Regions from separate parts of the Homo sapiens genome. Here all the other regions are linked to region 1. The links are contacts of gene promoters, found by promoter capture Hi-C in blood cells and fetal thymus (Javierre and others, 2016). All regions are on one chromosome and are shown on one strand. Each heading gives the region's core, a stretch centred on a gene start or on the middle of the fragment in contact. The rest is flanking DNA. Distances are from core to core; before and after follow the strand shown. Region 1 holds the start of SNRK-AS1 (SNRK antisense RNA 1). Region 2 overlaps POMGNT2 (protein O-linked mannose N-acetylglucosaminyltransferase 2 (beta 1,4-)). Region 3 has its middle 32 kb from the start of POMGNT2. Region 4 has its middle 82 kb from the start of POMGNT2.

What was found. The method cuts DNA at HindIII sites, captures the fragments that hold promoters and counts their contacts. A CHiCAGO score of 5 or more calls a contact.
Region 2: a contact is called between a fragment that was not itself captured here and the fragment with the promoter of SNRK-AS1 in region 1, in 2 of 17 cell types (naive CD8 T cells and non-activated CD4 T cells). The highest score is 5.7, in naive CD8 T cells.
Region 3: a contact is called between a fragment that was not itself captured here and the fragment with the promoter of SNRK-AS1 in region 1, in 1 of 17 cell types (non-activated CD4 T cells). The highest score is 5.0, in non-activated CD4 T cells.
Region 4: a fragment that was not itself captured here is called in contact with the fragment with the promoter of SNRK-AS1 in region 1 in 5 of 17 cell types (naive CD8 T cells, non-activated CD4 T cells, total CD4 T cells and 2 more); the score reaches 9.6 in naive CD8 T cells.

The regions. Positions count from the first base shown.
Region 1 is chr3:43,350,241-43,354,374 of GRCh38, reverse strand. SNRK-AS1 (SNRK antisense RNA 1) reads left to right here and starts at 2,413. Exons shown (of 3, transcript NR_046757.1): 1 at 2,413-2,777; 2 at 2,994-3,044. SNRK (SNF related kinase) reads right to left here. Exons shown (of 7, transcript NM_017719.5): 7 at 3,232-4,134. The HindIII fragment of the contact is 8,620 bases long and covers 1-4,134 here.
Region 2 is chr3:43,096,133-43,100,266 of GRCh38, reverse strand. All of the region lies in intron 1 of POMGNT2 (protein O-linked mannose N-acetylglucosaminyltransferase 2 (beta 1,4-)), which reads left to right. Among named protein-coding and RNA genes, the nearest start is that of POMGNT2, 7.9 kb to the left of the region's middle. RefSeq lists enhancers at 1,790-2,290, 2,291-2,791. The HindIII fragment of the contact is 615 bases long and covers 2,019-2,633 here.
Region 3 is chr3:43,136,238-43,140,371 of GRCh38, reverse strand. No RefSeq gene overlaps it. Among named protein-coding and RNA genes, the nearest start is that of POMGNT2, 32 kb to the right of the region's middle. The HindIII fragment of the contact is 6,011 bases long and covers 1-4,134 here.
Region 4 is chr3:43,186,406-43,190,539 of GRCh38, reverse strand. No RefSeq gene overlaps it. Among named protein-coding and RNA genes, the nearest start is that of POMGNT2, 82 kb to the right of the region's middle. The HindIII fragment of the contact is 2,162 bases long and covers 800-2,961 here.

The DNA.
Region 1 (4,134 bases), core at 1,164-3,663:
ACACTAGGGCCTTGTGGGCCACCACACAAGGATTAAACTTTTAAATCTGAGATGGAAAGCCATGGAAGGATTTTGAGCAGGGGAGTGACCCACTATTTAGACTGCTGTTTCTGGCCAGGATAGAATTAGAGGAATTTGATTGACCCTCTTGCCTTAAACAACTAGGAAACCAAACAAAATATATGGAGCAATAGTTTCCAGACATTGAGCAACAGACAGCATAGGGCTGTCACCCCGAGAGAAGGGAGGCAAATGAGGTGAGCCCTGAGTTGAATGCCCCAGCTCACTGCCCAAAGGCAGTTGCCAGAACACAGAGAGGGAAAGCCCAAATAGTCTGGTTGAGTTGAGCAGGTAGTTTGAAGTTCAAGATCAATGTGCAGGGCAGAGAGGAGGGAGCTGCACAGATAGTGAGCAAGCTCCAAAAGAAAATCTGTGGTCTTTGGTTGAGTACTGATCAGTACTTATGAGAAAACTACCTGAGGCTGGAGAAAGAACCACTGGAAAGCAGCAGGCTGAACAATGCTCAGAACTTACCCAAGGCTGGTAATAGTTCATGTTCCTACCAGCCAGAGTAGAAAAGCCTCAATAGAGTCCCTAGAGAGGTATTGCCTCAGTAGTGGGCCAAATTAGCCCTAGACTGAAGACTGCTCAGGATCTGCCCTAACAGTTTAAAAGTGAGACATGAAGGATCCAATGATTTTAAATAACTGCAGTCCAAAATGAAATCCAATACTTCTCACACGAATACAAAAAATTCCAGCATTCAACAATGCAAAATTCAGTGTCCAGCATTGCAATAAAAATGAATCAAGAATTTTTATACCCAATGATAATATCTTTCATAAAGGAAAAGTAATTTTTCAAAACAAAAGCTGACAGAATGTAATGCCAGCAGATCTGCATTATATGAAATGTTAAAGAATGTTCTACAGGCAGAAGGAAAACCAAACTGTGGATCTACACAAAGAAATGAAGAGTGCTGCAAATGACAAATATGTAGCTAAAATACTCCCCCCCCCCCTGTTTAATCCCTTAAAAACTAGTTAAAACAATATTTATACATATACAAAAATAAAATGTATGACAACAGTAGTATAAGGAACAGGAAGAGGAAAATAGAGGCATACAGTTGTAAGGTTTTTATATTCTACATGAAGTGATATATTAAGATAGACTGTGATATAATAAAATACATGTATTGCAAATCTTATAGCACCCCCTGAAAAACAAGAGTTACAGCCAATAAGCCAATAGCGGAGATAAAATGGAGTAACAAAAGGTGCTCAGTTAAACCAAAACAAGGTAGCAAAAGAGGGAAAAAGAACAGACGAGACAAATAGAAAACTAGGTAGGTTTAAACTCAACCATATTGACAATTACACTAAATGTAATACATCTAAACCCTCAATCAAAGACAGACATTTGCTGATGGGATAAGAAAGCAAGCTCGAACTATATGATATCTGCAAAAAACAAACTTTAAACATAAAGACACAATAGGTTAACAGTAAAGAATGGAAAAAGATATATTCTCACAAGTCAAAAAAAAGCTGGAGTTACTGTATCACTATCACACAAAGTAGATTTCAGAACAAATAGTTTACCAGTCATAAAGAAGGAACATTTCATGAGGAAAGGGATCAATTCATTGATATGACGTAACAATCTTAAATGCTTATGTACCAAACAACAGAGCTTCAAATTTTCTAAAATAACACTGCTAGAACTAAAAGGAGAAATAGACAAATCCACAACTATAGTTGGAGATTTCAACACTCCTCTCTCAATAATTGAGACAGAAAATCAGTAAGAATATAGAAAACTTGAACATTATCAACCAACTTGAACGAACTGACATGTATAGGACACTCCACCAATAGCACTTTCCAAGCACTCAGGAAACATTCACCAAGATAGGTCGTATGTTGGGCCATAAAACAAGTTTCAGTAATTTCAAAAGATTTAAACTATAGAAAGCATGCACTGATAAAAATAGAATTAAACTAAAAATTATAGAAACCTATGTGGGAAAACCCCAAATATTTGGAAACTAAACACGTTTCAAAACATGGTATGATTTAGCCTTTAAAATGATCTCTCATACTGCTAAGTGGAAAATAAATGAGAAAGACAAGGGCAAATGCAGGGAAACCCTTTAAGAGGCATTTACAGTTGAGTGTCATGGACTAGAGTGGTAGTGGTGGTGGCAATGAGAAGGAGTCAACTGTGAAAGGCAAGTTAAGATTTGCTCATAAACTGAATGTTGGGATGAAAAAGTGGATGACACCAAGATTTTCAGCTTGAATGAAACTATTGAAGGCTAGGAGTTGATATTTATTAAGATGGGTGCGCTAGTAAAAGGATTTGAGGGGAAAGATTAGGGGTTTTGAACTTGTAAAAATTGAGATGCTGTAGACACACAGACACATCCAAGAAGAAAAGTCAAATAGATAGTTGAAATCCAGTGTTCCCAGGGTATGTGGGCTAAATATATTTTGGGCTTCTATCAGCATATAGATACTAGACTAACTGAGATCAGGAGTCACTGCAGATAGAGCAGGGGTCCAGAATTGAACATTGGGACATTCCAAATTTAGAGGTTGGAAGAATGAGGAAGGACCAGTGGACATGAAGAGCAGCAAGGCAGAAGTGAGATACTGAAAGATGGGAAGTTCATAAGGAAGAAAGTGAGCAATTCATCAAATTCTAACATGGGATTGAAAATTGATCACAGGAAGTGGTTGCATGAGGCTGGAGTAAAGGGAGTTGCGGACAAGGTAAAGTATGCCAAAGGGCACAAGATTTCTTTGGCGGGCGGGGGGGGGTTGTAAAAGTCAATTATGGTAATGGTTGTGAGAACTGAGTAAGAGTAGCTGACCTTGGAATCACAGTAACAGGAGGAAGGGCAGAGCATGTGAATGTGTATGAAGGAAGGGAGGAAGGCAGAGGTGGGAACTTGTGGCAGTTCTCATTGCTTCCCTTTATTCAATTAGGCAGCATGGTGACCAGCAGAGTGAGGAAAGGAGATGAAATAGAGAAATAAAGTAAGTATACTTAATGGGCACCCTGGCCCCACCTATGATTTGTAGCCATGAGTTTAAACATAATAATGACTGTACTTTTTCAGCCAAATCTGGTGGTGCAGGCACAGGGCATGGAGAAGGCTGGGTCTAACTGAGGTGGGATCACACAAAGCTACACTCATGAGAAGCAATACAACACAGGACACGGTTTATATTGCTGAACACCAATATGTCACTTTATTATTTGGATTTTTTTTCCCATTTGTCACATACCTGTCAATGTTTACACAATGAGGGAAATCAACCAGCATTGGAAGCAACTGACCAAATCAGTTGATAATTCTGTACCCTCTTAACACACATCAATTTTCACTTGGTAGGGATTATCTTTAATTCGGTCTCACAGCTATTCTTAAAATTGGTGTCAAGATTGTCACATCTTTAAATACAGATAGAATTGCCAGAAGTACATAATTATATATATATACACACATACAGAAAAATACAAGACTGTTTTTCCACAATATTTAATTTATACACTACTGTAACTATATGCAACTTTTGAAGACAGGTTAAGGGGTACAAGTAACTGTTTAGAGCAAGTAAGTAGTTTGGTCCAATATTATCTTAATGTAATGGTTTTTCGCTCCCTCCCTTTTATGTGACGACATACTATGACATACAAAACATGCACAATCATTCACTTATAAACAAAGGAGTAAGACACCACTCAGACTGACATTTGTATACCCCAAGGGTCAACCACACAACTAATAAGGCTATAATACAGCTATGCAGCATAAATGGTCAACACTGCTGATCCTAAAGTGAGCACCATATATACATCTGAATATAAAAAACCATTGAAACCAAACACATATGGGTTAGTTAAAAGGTGCCATTCCAAGGCTATACATAATCACAGGAAAAAGTATTTACACTGCTTGGAAAACAGCTGCAACAAAGAGTTTATTGCCAATGCCCTTTATAAACTTCTCTCCTATGTTTAATACAGATGTTACGCTCACTATCTATGTGAACCACACATCTTATTTCTGGCCCTTTATAAGATCCCTGCTCAAGAATTTCAAGCAAATATGTTCTATGGCTT
Region 2 (4,134 bases), core at 1,077-3,576, 250 kb after region 1:
TTTTTGTATTTTTAAGTTTTTTTTGAATATTTTTGATCCACAGTTGGTTGAAGTCACATATGCAGAACCTGCAGATATAGAGGGCTGACTGCATATAGAGAGAATGATTAAACAAAGATGTCAAATTAGCAGTTGGTGAATCTGGGTAAGAGTGTAGGAGAGTTCTTTGTCCTATACATGCAACTTTTTTTGTAAATTTAAAATTATTTCCAGATAAAAAGAAGGAGATCGCAGACCCTGTAGCCAGCCTACCTGGGTTAGTCTTATCATTGCTTCCTCTGTAAACTTGGCTTTCTAACCTTTCTGAGCTTTGATTTTTACCATCTATAAAATAAAGATTATCATTGCAAAGTGAAGAATCTGGCACCTAGTGATTGGCCAGTAGATCTTAGCTATGATAATATCATTATTATTAGGAAAGGGAGGAGTTGAGGGTGACATGGTGGTAATGAGACCAAAGGAAAACTCAGCCTAATTCTGTCACCTCCTTCTGCTTGCTGATGTGGGATCTCAGGGTCCCTGGGTATCTGGCAGGGACCTGGCTGCCATAAAGCGTCACCCTGCAGAAGGCTTTGCAAGTAGTCACCTGAGCCCATAGGGCTCTACTGTTGAAACCCAGGTCTCCTGGCAGCTTTATCTCCTGCCTTCCCTGGCACTTCTGTGCCTGCCCCACAGCCTGGGCTCCCCGACCTTTACCTGTCTGGGTATGCAGTGCCCACTGAACTGCACATGGCTTTGGGCCTGGCCATCACTGCCCATGGCTTGGAGGCCTCATGGTTTGCTGGACATTTGTGAGAACTAGACAGTGATGCTTGCTGCAGACAGATTTGTAGCAGTCATGAGTAATTGGGACATGTAGACACATAACAGAGATGCTCATCTTATCCTCCATCACCACCAAAACACCTCCAAAAACTTGCTCAAAACTCACCCACCCTCCAGCCAGCTTCCCTGGATGATCTCTTGTTGTGCACACTTCCTCGTGTTTCTTTGTGAATGTTTTATGCTTCCTATACTGGGTGTTTTTGGCTCTCTTGATCAGTTCAACCCTCTCAAATTGGGCCTGAGGGTCCATCTGGATTTGTGTACACACTGGGGTCTGAGCATTCCCTGTAAGAATTGTTTTCATTTGATTTTGTAGTTCCACCTAGAAAACCTGGTGTAGGCGTGTTCTCCATTACCTTTGTGAGCCACACAACAGAGGTTCCCACCGTTCTGTTCCCTGTTTCATCCCCGTTTATGACCACACTGGTACACAGTGATGCCAGAGAGGACCAATACAGGCACATGTCACTTCCAGGTGACCCATTTGTGCTAAGCAAAAGCCAGATGACACGGCAGGCTGTGTGGCAAGCAAAGGTTTCTGCGTTATTTGGAGGCTGAAAACCGGTGAGAGGGTTGCATATGAGCTGGTGGAAGGCCGAACGTCCTGCCCCACACTCAAGCCTTGGTTTATCCTCAGCAAAGACTGACATCACCCTTCTCACCAAAGTAGTACAGACTTGAATTCTGTTGGAGTTTTTCCTGCTTTGAAGGGGTTCCTTTTCTATTGATAAGGCAATATAGTCACAGTCATCAGCTATTGATGGTGGATTAATGTCTCCAGCTTTGACTTTGCTTTGCTCTTTATTCTAAAGCAAGAAGATACTACCCATGTCAAAGTTTTAATCTAAGAAAGTGAGCCCTTAACTAAATGTTAAATATGCCTTGATAATTAAATGTGTTAAGTTTTACAAGAACCACTCAGACTGCCAAGATTTTGCCAAAGGATAAATACCTTGGTCAGAAAACCTGATCTATAAATGCCGAATTTATCAATAGCATTAGGTTAATATTTAATTTAGGAGCAAATGTAAGCATTATGTTATTAATACCAGTTCCATATACTACTTCAGATAACCAAAAAAAAAGGAGGGGGAAAGAGATCATTCTGAGGATAAGCTTGAGTTAGTGAAACATGTTTACTCCTTACTAATTTACAACATGTAAGACAACAAATCAATACAGGACTGAAAGCTTCCACAATCTAGCACTAGTACTTCAGGCTGCATTTAGGACAAAAACACTTTTCAGTGACAAAATAAGATTTCTATAATTTTCAATTGGAAGTGTGAACAATCCTTAAAAGTCAAATTGCTGTGAAAGTAAAATATAAAACCTTCTGCACCGTTGCTGACCCCCTCCTGGCCTGGGCCCTGCCTGATCTTCTGCAGCCTGGGTCTGGCAGGTGCTGGCTGTCTGGTCCCTCCACCTCTGTAACCCTTCTTGTGGAGGAGTGACCGGTGAGCTGCTGGTTCTGGCAGTCACAAAACTGGGAACCCGGGCACAGGCCATGGTGAGGCCAGCAGGACAGGGGATTTGCTTTAGACCAGAGCTTGCAAATGAGCATCCGTTTTTAACTGGCAACCATGAGGCCAGCAGCCCCAGGCCTTGGTGCACGTTGTCTTCACTCAATTTGAATAATTGCCAGAAGTTACAAATGAGGACATTTCACATTTTAAATAGATTTTTGCTTCTCTGGGAAAATCAGAAGAGTATTGCTATGGACTGAATCATGTTCCCCCCATTTATATGTTGAAGATCTAACCCCCCTGTGATTGTGTTTAGAGATAGATCATCCTAATAATGAAGCTTAAATGAGGTCATAAGGGTGGGGCCCTAATCTGATAGGACTGGTGTCCTTATAAGAAGAGGAAAAGAGATCAGAGTGTTTCTCTCTCTCCCCACCTCCCTCTCCCGGCTTCCTTTCTCCCTCCCTTTCCCCCTTGCTCACCTGCCCCTCTCCTCCCTCCCCACCACACAGAGAAGAGGCCATCTACAAGCCAGGAAGAGAAGCCTCACCAGAAACCAACCCTGACAGATCTGTGAGAAAATTCTGTCATTTAAGGCACTCAGTCTGGTATTCTGTTATGGGAGCCCAAGCAGACTGATACAGATAGGTACCACCAGGCTGCTTTCCCGCCATTCTCTCATCAGCTGGCATTAGGTGTTCTGTCTCCAGGTCACACAGCCCACCCTCAGCTTTACTTTCTCCATTGGCTCCGGCCCTAGCAGGCATGTGAGTGTGCACCTCCTACTCTGGGCCCAGAATTCCTGGAGCTTTTACTCCTTATCAAACCTTAAAGCCCTTATGGGCTTTTCTGTGCCCGTGTCTGGGGCTGGCCAGGGCCCCCAGAAGTACAGCCTGCACCCAGCACCAATGACCACCCTCACGTGGTGAGCTCCCCAAGGCAAGTGGCCCCACCCCACCTGCCCAGCTGTTACTGGGGTCTGCAGTTGCAACAGCATTTTTGACATTATCCTCTGATGCTCGGAACAGCTGGGATCCTAGAAAGGAGGATTCACTAAGTCTGGGGATCTGATAACATTTAACTGCTCTTGGGAGCTTAGTAAAGTGGTTTGGGGGAGTGAATTGGTAGCTTCCTCCTGTCTGCCTCAGTTTCTAAAGGGATTTTCTAGGCATGTTTTTAATCTCTTGTTGATTTCTTTTTTCTCTTTCTTTTGAAAAAATTTTTGTTTTATCATGCTTTGTCCTGGCTGAGCCACTAAGCCCTTTGTTCCCCACTCCAGTTGGTCTCTAAATTTGGTGCCCAATATAGAGGAGGCAGAGGCAGATAAACATGGTGGTGTTGAAGTACCCTGGTCTGTGTGGCCCTGGAATGCCAAGAAGGTGAGGTCCAAATGGTGCCTGGGCTATTAACATAAGACAGTGCTTAGAATCCATGTTCAGATCCTGCCTCCATTCTGTACATGCTGAGGGACTTGGACACATTTACTTAGCTTCTCCCAGCCTCTGTGTCCCAATCTATAAAATGGAGTAATAGAAATAGTGTTAGCCTCTTAATGTTGGTTTGAAGATTGAATGAGAAAATATACCTACAGTGTTCAGTATACTGCCTGGAACATAAAGTGTTAGAGGCTGGTGATTTTGAGTGTGTTTTTCAAGGTAAGAGTGGGTTCATATTTAATAGTTGTTGGTAATCTGGGAATCAGTTTCAGGTGCCGATTGGATCCTTGGTAGCAGGATGGGATGGGAGGTACAGCACGGGAATCAGCTGCTGGTCCCAGAGCAGTGGAGGGGCCAAAACTCCGCTTAGGGCACGAGTAAGAGGAGTGATAGGAAGAGGCAGCTTT
Region 3 (4,134 bases), core at 883-3,382, 210 kb after region 1:
TATAAAAGAAGTATTTTTAGGAAGATGATATGACTTTTTACAGTGGTTTATAATTGATAAAATGGATGCTGGCCTTCTATATGGAAAAGTTCTCAGCTTATGTGACTTGATACTTTAAAGACTTGGCTTTCCCACAGATCTCTTGACTCTCTTTTGCAGAATAGGTGCATATAACTTCTGATTCCTTAGTATAAGGTGGCCCATTAATTATGGATATCAGTTACCAATAATTCAGTAAGCCTCCAATGAGAACAGCTATAAAATTCAAAGTGGTCTCTTTTTTTATGTTTTTAAAATCAAGCAAATTTTCTTCTACAGGCCAGGCCTAAGTCTATAATAAGATGCAAACAAGTTTAGTTAGAAAAAATAATTTGTCAACCTGAAAAAGAGCCTTAGAGAGACAGACAGCATCTCTAGAACAAAAGATTTTAATTGCAAATTGCAAAGCGTTGCAACTGGGGATATATGTGCTATGAAAATCATAGGCCCACACAAGGAAATTCAGGACAAAGGGAAGTTTTTAAAGACAAAGAGAAGACCATGCAAACTGCTTTGAAAGAAAGCTCATTGGTTACAGGCACTCATTGCAGGAGTTGCTGTTAGTCCATCAGGGAAGAAAGCCATTGCTGTTCAACTGTCCTGGTCCAAGGGTACTATCTGAAATACTGTAGGCCAGAGGAAATTCCTGTGATGAGCTCTGCTTGCTCTGTTTACAAGATAGAGCAAGCAGGGCAGGCATTTCAGGAAATCACGTCTGACAGCTTCTTCTTCATGGCCCTCTCTGACTTCATTTTGGTTAGGGTTTTCACATAAATGACTATTTTGTTACTGTTAACTTCCACATGTTGCAGGAGTGACATCAATGAAAATGGTGGAATAAGGACATCTAAAAGTCTCTCATCTATAAAAACCATGAGAAGGCCAGGCACAGTGGCTTATGTCTGTAATCCCAGCACTTTGGGAGGCCATGGCGGGTGGATCACAGGTCAGGAGATCGAGACCATACTTGCTAACACAGTGAAACCCCATCTCTACTAAAAATACAAAAAAATTGTTGGGTGTGGTAGCATGTGCCTGTAGTCCCAGCTACTTGGGAGCCTGAGGCAGGAGAATCACTTGAACCTAGGAGGCAGACTTTGCAGTGAGTTGAGATCACACCACTGCACTTCAGTCTGGAGACTCTGTCTCAAAAAAAAAAAAAAAAAGAGAGAGAGAAACTGGCAAAAAATATTAGAATAAACTTTGTCTGAACTCTGGAAATTAACAAAAGGCTTGTGGCAATTCAGAAAGCATTAATTTAAGAAAAACGGCTGAATCTTGGTAAGAACAGTGAATTTGGTGATATGTAATTTGCTCCACATTAGTTCCCCCTTATCTTCCCAGGACATGTTCCAAGATCCCCAGTGAATGCCTGAAGCACAGATAGTCTCCAATCCTATATATACAATGTTTTTTTCCTATATATATGTGCCTATGATAAAGTTTAATTTATGAATTAGGCATAGTAAGAGATTATCGATAACTAATCATAAAATAGAACACATAACAATATACTGTGACAAATATTATGTGAATGTGCTCTCTGTCTTTATCTCTTCTTTCTCTCAAAATATCTTATTGTATTGTACTCACCTATTTTCAGACCATGGTTGACCATGGAAAGTGAAACCGTGGGTAAGCGGGGGACTCCTCCCATACCTAATGTGCAGTAGTCTTAAAAACTAGCATCCTACAATCATGGTAAAAAAACACTAGCAGCTAGGCATCCACTGAAGGGGACAGAACAGAACAGAACAGGGTTAGAGCTCCTTCAAAGTTTAGTATCAGAGAATTGTCATTATTTGGCTTTTATTTTTGTTCCCTGGAAGACATCACTTGCAAAGCTCTCTTTATTTCACCTGATTCAGAAGTCATTCAGTGGAACCCCCTTTTCTTTAGGGGCATTTATGGAAAAGATGGGAATCAACTATTAAACTATGCAGCTGCCTAATGGATAACAGTAGGGCAAACAATAGGTTAACCAAAAACATAAAAGGAAAATTGAGGAAAGAGATGTCCACATAGAGGATTTGAAAAGCTCTGACCTATTCCCGGAAATCTACAGGCTGTGCTCTAAAGCTGTGCATATGGCCAGGGCTGTGTACATGTTAAGGGAAGACCTGTGAAAGCCCTAAGCTCTCACCTCTGTCTGACCTTGAGGCTCTGCATGAAAAAAGTGAAGGGTAAGGCAGAATTGTCAACTGCCAATCTGAGTGTTGAAGAGGTACATCACCCTTGGCAAAGTCTGGGAGACTACAAGTTCCACATATTTGAGGAAATATCTTTCCAACCCATACCTAACAAAGTAACAGAGCAGGGACACCAGTGGCCACAGACAACAAAGATTTAGACTAATGCAGAATTAGTTGAAAAAAAGTCATAAACAAACAAACAACAACAATAACAAATAGCAACAATTAAAAAAAAAAAACTGGGAGAGGACATCTGATTTTCAGAGTTGCCATATTGTATTATCTAAAATGTCCACATTTCAACAAAACATTGTAAGAAACAAAAAGTATGACTAATACACTGGAAAAATGGGCAATTGGTAGAAACTGTCCCTAAGGAAGCCCAGGCATTGTACTTACTAGAAAATAGTTTAAATCAGTTATTTAAAATATGTTCTAAGAACCAGTTTGAGACAAGCCTGGGCAATATAATGAGACCTTCTCTCTACCAAAAAAAGGCTAAAAATTAGCTGGCATGGTGGCACATAGCTACTTGGGAGGCTGAGGCGGAAGGATCCCTTGAGCCTGGGAGGCGGGGTTTGCTGTGAGATGAGATTGCACCACTGCACTCCAGTCTGGATGACAGAGTGAGATCTGTCTCAAAAATAAATAAACAATAAATAAATAAATAAATAATGTTCTAAGAACTAAAGGAAACCAGGCCTATAGAAATAAAGTGTGAGACTAATGTTTCAATAAAGAGAAAATATAAAGAAAAAGGTAGAAATTACAAAAACGAACCAAATAGAAATTCTGGATTTGAAAAGTACCATCACCAAACTGAAAAATTTATAAGAGGTTCCAAACAGCAGATTTGAGCTGTCAGAAGTAAATAAGCAACAAACTCAGAGATAGGTCCATTGAAATTATTCAGTCTGAGGAACAGAAAAAGGAACAAGGAAAAATGAACAGAGCCTCAGAGACATGTGTGACACTGTTATGAACTGAATGTTTGTCACCCTCAAATTTATGTGTTGAAACCCTTTGACGCCCAAGTGATGGTGTTAGGAGGTAGGGCCTTTAGGAGGTAATTAGGATTAGATGAAGTCATAAGGGTGGAGCTGTCGTATTGCCCTTAGAAGAGTTATGAGAGAGCCTTCTTTCTGTCTCTGCCCTTCTGCCATGTGAGGATATCGTGAGTAGACGGTTGTTTATAAGCCAGGAAGTAGGCCCTCACCAGGCATCATATTTACTGGCAGCTTGATCTTGGACTTCCCAGACTCCAGAACTGTGAGTAAGAAATGTTTGTTGTTCAAGTCACCCAGTCTATGGTTTTTTTGTTATAGTAGCTCAAATGGACTAAGACAGACACACCATCAAGCGTATCAACATACATATAATGGGAGTCACAGTGACAAAGAAGGAAAAAAAGGGGCATAAGAATGTTTGAAGGAATGATAGCTGAAAAGTTCCCAAATTTGGTTAAAAACTGTCTACACATCCAAGAAACTCAACAAATTCCAAGTAGGGTAAACTCAAAAACATCCACACCTATACACATCATACTCAAACTACCAAAAGCCAAATATAAAGACAGAATAACTATCGAGGAAGTGAAAAAATGACCCACAGAATGAAAGTTTTTGCAAATTATGTGTCTGACAAGGGTCATGTATCCAGAATATTTAAAGAATTCTTACAACTGAGTAATAAAAAGACAAATAATCCAATTAAGAATGGCAAAGGTTGTATACCTATCTAAAGAAGGTATACATATAGCCAATAAGCACAAAAAAAGGTGCTTGACATCATTAGTCATTGAGGAAATGCAAATCAAACCATGAGATACCAATTCATACCTACTTGGATGACTGTAATAAAAAGGATAGAAAATAAGTTTTGGAGAGGATGTGGAGAAATTATA
Region 4 (4,134 bases), core at 631-3,130, 160 kb after region 1:
GAGCGTGTCAGTGGTAGGAGGGAGTTGGAGATGAGATAGGAAGGTCACCAAGTCTGACTGTGTAGGGCCTTGAGGGGTGGTAGAAGGATTTGACTTTTCTCTGATCATGATAGGGAAGCATTGGAGGATTAGAGCAGAGCAGTAACATGACTTAACCCTAAGAATAAACTACAGGCAGGAAAAGGTAGGAACAGGGGGACCCGTTATGAGGCTATTGCAATAATCCAGGTGAGGGACAATGATTACTTGGACCAGGAGGACATTACAGGTGCGAGATGAGATGGAGTCTTGATATATTTGAAGGTAGAACTGACGGGATTTCCTAGTAGAAATATGAGACAGGGAAGAAAGGTCAGAGGTGACTCCAAGATTATCCTGAGGCAACCAGGGAATGGAGCTGCCATTTTCTGAGATGGGAAAGACTGTGGGAGTGTGGGGCTTGAGTAGACAGATTAGAAGTTGGTCTTAAAATTTTAAGTTTGAGATGATACATAGCCAAATTGGATGTCAAGAGGCAGTCTGGGGTTTGGGAAGAGGCTGAGGCTAGAGATACAAATCTGAGTTTTGAAACCAAAATATTGATATTTAAAGCCACAAGATTATTAAGGACGTGCATGTAGACAGAGAAAAGTTTCAAGGAGTGGGTCCTAGATTAAAAGGAAGAATGACCTCTTCTTCTTGGGGCAACCCCAGATCCCTGGGTGGCCCAGAAACTGACCCTGAGTTTGTACAAAAATGGTACAATTTCCATTCTTAAGTGGGAAGAGCTCTGACCCTTAATATTTGACTACAGCAAGCTTCTCTTGCCTTTAGTGACCACCTCACATCACAGATGAAAGATGAACATTTGTGGTCAGATAGATATGGCTGAGGAGTATTCCTTGATGACCTCACTCCTTGTACCTCCTGCTCAAGTTGCCCAAATTCCTCCAGTGCATGATGGTCAAGGGCACCCAAAGCTAGGATCTCAAGGTCACTATTCATAGTCCCATGCACGACCAACCCCACACAACTCCACCTGCTCTTGCAGTGCACAGTCAGAATCCTTTGGATGTCCAGTTCTCAGTTTCCTTCCCCTCACCATGGATAAGCCCCCAGGGATCAGTCAGCTTAGCTTTCAAACCTTGAAACAAAATGAGTTGATTCCACTCCCTTTCTTGCAGTATAGTGTTACCTCCAAGAGAAGACCCTGAATGTTAAGGTGTTTGAAGGGGGCCCAGTGAATGACATCCCCTTTCTCACTTTCTCACTTGAACCAATTAAGAAATAATTGAACCAATTCTGAACCCGTTAAGAAATAAAACAAAGGAGTAATAAGGCAGATGAAAGCCAGAATGCCACTTATACAGATAAAGCAGATGTTGGAGAAAGGCTCATCGTTGGCTTCATGTCTTTCCAAGTGCTGAACCCCTGAATTAGGCATCTCACCCACCCAAACATGGCAGAGTTGGACCAAGGATCCGGTCCCTATGAGATGTACAACATGGGTGAGTAGACCCAAGAAGTTCTGGGCTGTGCTGTCCAGCTTCTCCTCCCAAACTCACAATCAGAATAACCTCTCCCTCCAGGGCAGGGGGACTGAAGAGGGTGGAGAGAGTCCAGAAGTGCCATATCAGGGGTGCTGTCTCCACTTGGATGGAAACATCTTATGGGGATAAGCTATCCTCACTTTCAAACCTTCATCAACATAACTTCTAAAAGACAAAAGACTCCTTTAGCATCCTTGGAAGTGGTGATTCACTCTTCCAGTGGTGAACAAGGGGAACCTGGCACAGCTCTTACAAAGACAATGAAAAACAAACCACTATGTCATGTGTAGATATCAATATGCAAAGAGATGTGCACGCACATGTGGGCACACACAGACACACAGATGGATTATACAGTATGCTTATAGCATATTTTATAACTGCTCCTTTCACCTAAAACATCAAGACTCTCCTTCTAATACATATACTTTTAAAATTGCCTTAATGGACAAATGTCATTCCATTGTGTGGTATACCCATCTTTTAATAACCTGTCTCTTATTGTTGGTTATCTGGTTTGCTTCCAATCCTTTTCTACTATTAAAAAAAATACCTAAACCTTCTTTTAGATAAATTGGTTCATATTTTTTACAATTTCCTTAAGCTAAATTCCTGGAATTGGATTTGCTGGTTTAAAGGGCAGGCAGGTTTTCAACACTGGTTACATTTTGAAAATTATGTAACAGATGTCATTGACGTAGTCCAATGTGCAAAGGACAAAGAGAATAGACAAATAAGTTAGTTTACCTTGCAGGCTATGAGCTCCCATAGTGGACCTCTGTGTCTCCCACAAACCCTGGGACTATGCTGGGTACCTTAGAACTTCATCTCATTGTGTGTTAGCTGATGGACTGAAGAGAACTAATGGGAAGGGATGGTTATATATGGGCTTTCTGTATATGACAAAGGCAAGTGCATTTTCAAGAGTGAGTAGAGGCCTCTGCCAGCTGGGTAGAGGCAAGCATGGTGGTTCTTTTGCCAGAATTCCATGCTGTTTCTCTGTGCCTGAGTGATTTGGTTTGGTACTCTAATACCAAGCCAGACAAGGATACTACAGGAAAAGAAAATTACAGGCCAATATCTCTGCTGAACATAGAAACAAAAATCCTCAACAAAATACTAGCAAACCAAATTCAACAGCATGTTAAAGGATCATACACCACAATCAAGTGGTATTTATCTCTGGAATGTAAGGATGGGTCAACATACGCAAATTAATAAATGACATACCGCATTGACAGAATGAAGAATTAAAATAATGAGATTTTCTGCATCTCAATAAATGCAGAAAAAGCATTTGACAAAATTTAACATCTTTTCATGATTAAAACTCTCAAAAATTATAGATAGAAAAAATGTACCTCAACATAGCAAATGCCCTATGTGACAAGTCCACAGCTAATATTATACTCAATGGAAAAAGTTGAAAGCTTTTCCTCTAAGATTGGAAACAAGATAAGGATGTCCACTCTCACCACTTCTATTTAGTAAAGTACTTACTGGAAGTCCTAGCCAGAGCAATAGGAAAGAAAAAGAAATAAAAGGCATCCAAATTGAAAGGAAGAAGCAAAATTGTCTGTGTTTGCAGGTGATACCATCTATTAAAAAACCCTGAAGACTTCACAAAAAACTATTAGAACTAATAAATTCAGTAAAGTTGCAGGATACAAAATTAACATTTCAAAATCAATAATCTATCCTTTCTTTTCCTTTCTTTCCTTTCTTTCCTTCCTTCCTTTCTTCCTTTCTCCTTTCTTAAAATCATATAAATGGCCAACAAGTATATGGAAAAAATGCTTAACATTATTAATCATCAGAGAAATGCAAATTAAAACCACAATGAGGCATCACCTCATACCTGTTAGGATGGCTGTTATCAAAAAGATAAAATAAAAGTGTTGGTAAGGATGTAGAGAAAAGGGAATTCTTGTACACAGCCCCATGAAAAAACTTGGCTGCTTACACCCCTGGTCACAGGACGATTTGTGTAGTAGTGGGAATAGAAGCTGCTGAAGGGTTTTCAGCTTCTCACGGATAAAACTAAGGGAGTGTCTTGCTGTGACCAGGAAGATGGCCCTCCAGAACAGGGAGGGGGTTCCCACCTTCCCTTGGCTTCCCAGAGCATGGTGGAGAGGTTAGGACTCAAACAGATGTCTGTTCAAATCCTGATGCTGAGGCTATCTCACTGTAGGAATGTGAACGAGTTACTTAACCTCTCTATGCCTCAGTTTTCTTGGCTGAAAGTGAAGGTAGCAACACATAGCACTTAGGGTTGTGTAAGGAACTAATTGGATAATGTGTATATAAATTACTTGGTTTATGGTAGGTGCCCAATTGATGATAGCTGTTAGTCTGCATCAGTACCACTAAGTGTAGGCAATCAGGAAGCCACACTAGAATGCCAAAGAAATGGATAAAAAGACCATTGAACATCTCTCAGATATAACATCATTATGACCCCAGGGCATAGCACATAGTTAGCACTTGGTAAATATTTGATAAACTCAATGAATGAATGAATCAATCAGTATGTCCTAGGCCATCTCAGACATGCAAGTAGCAATGAGGGTGAAGAGCTCATCTCTGGAGGAGCTAAGAAAATCCC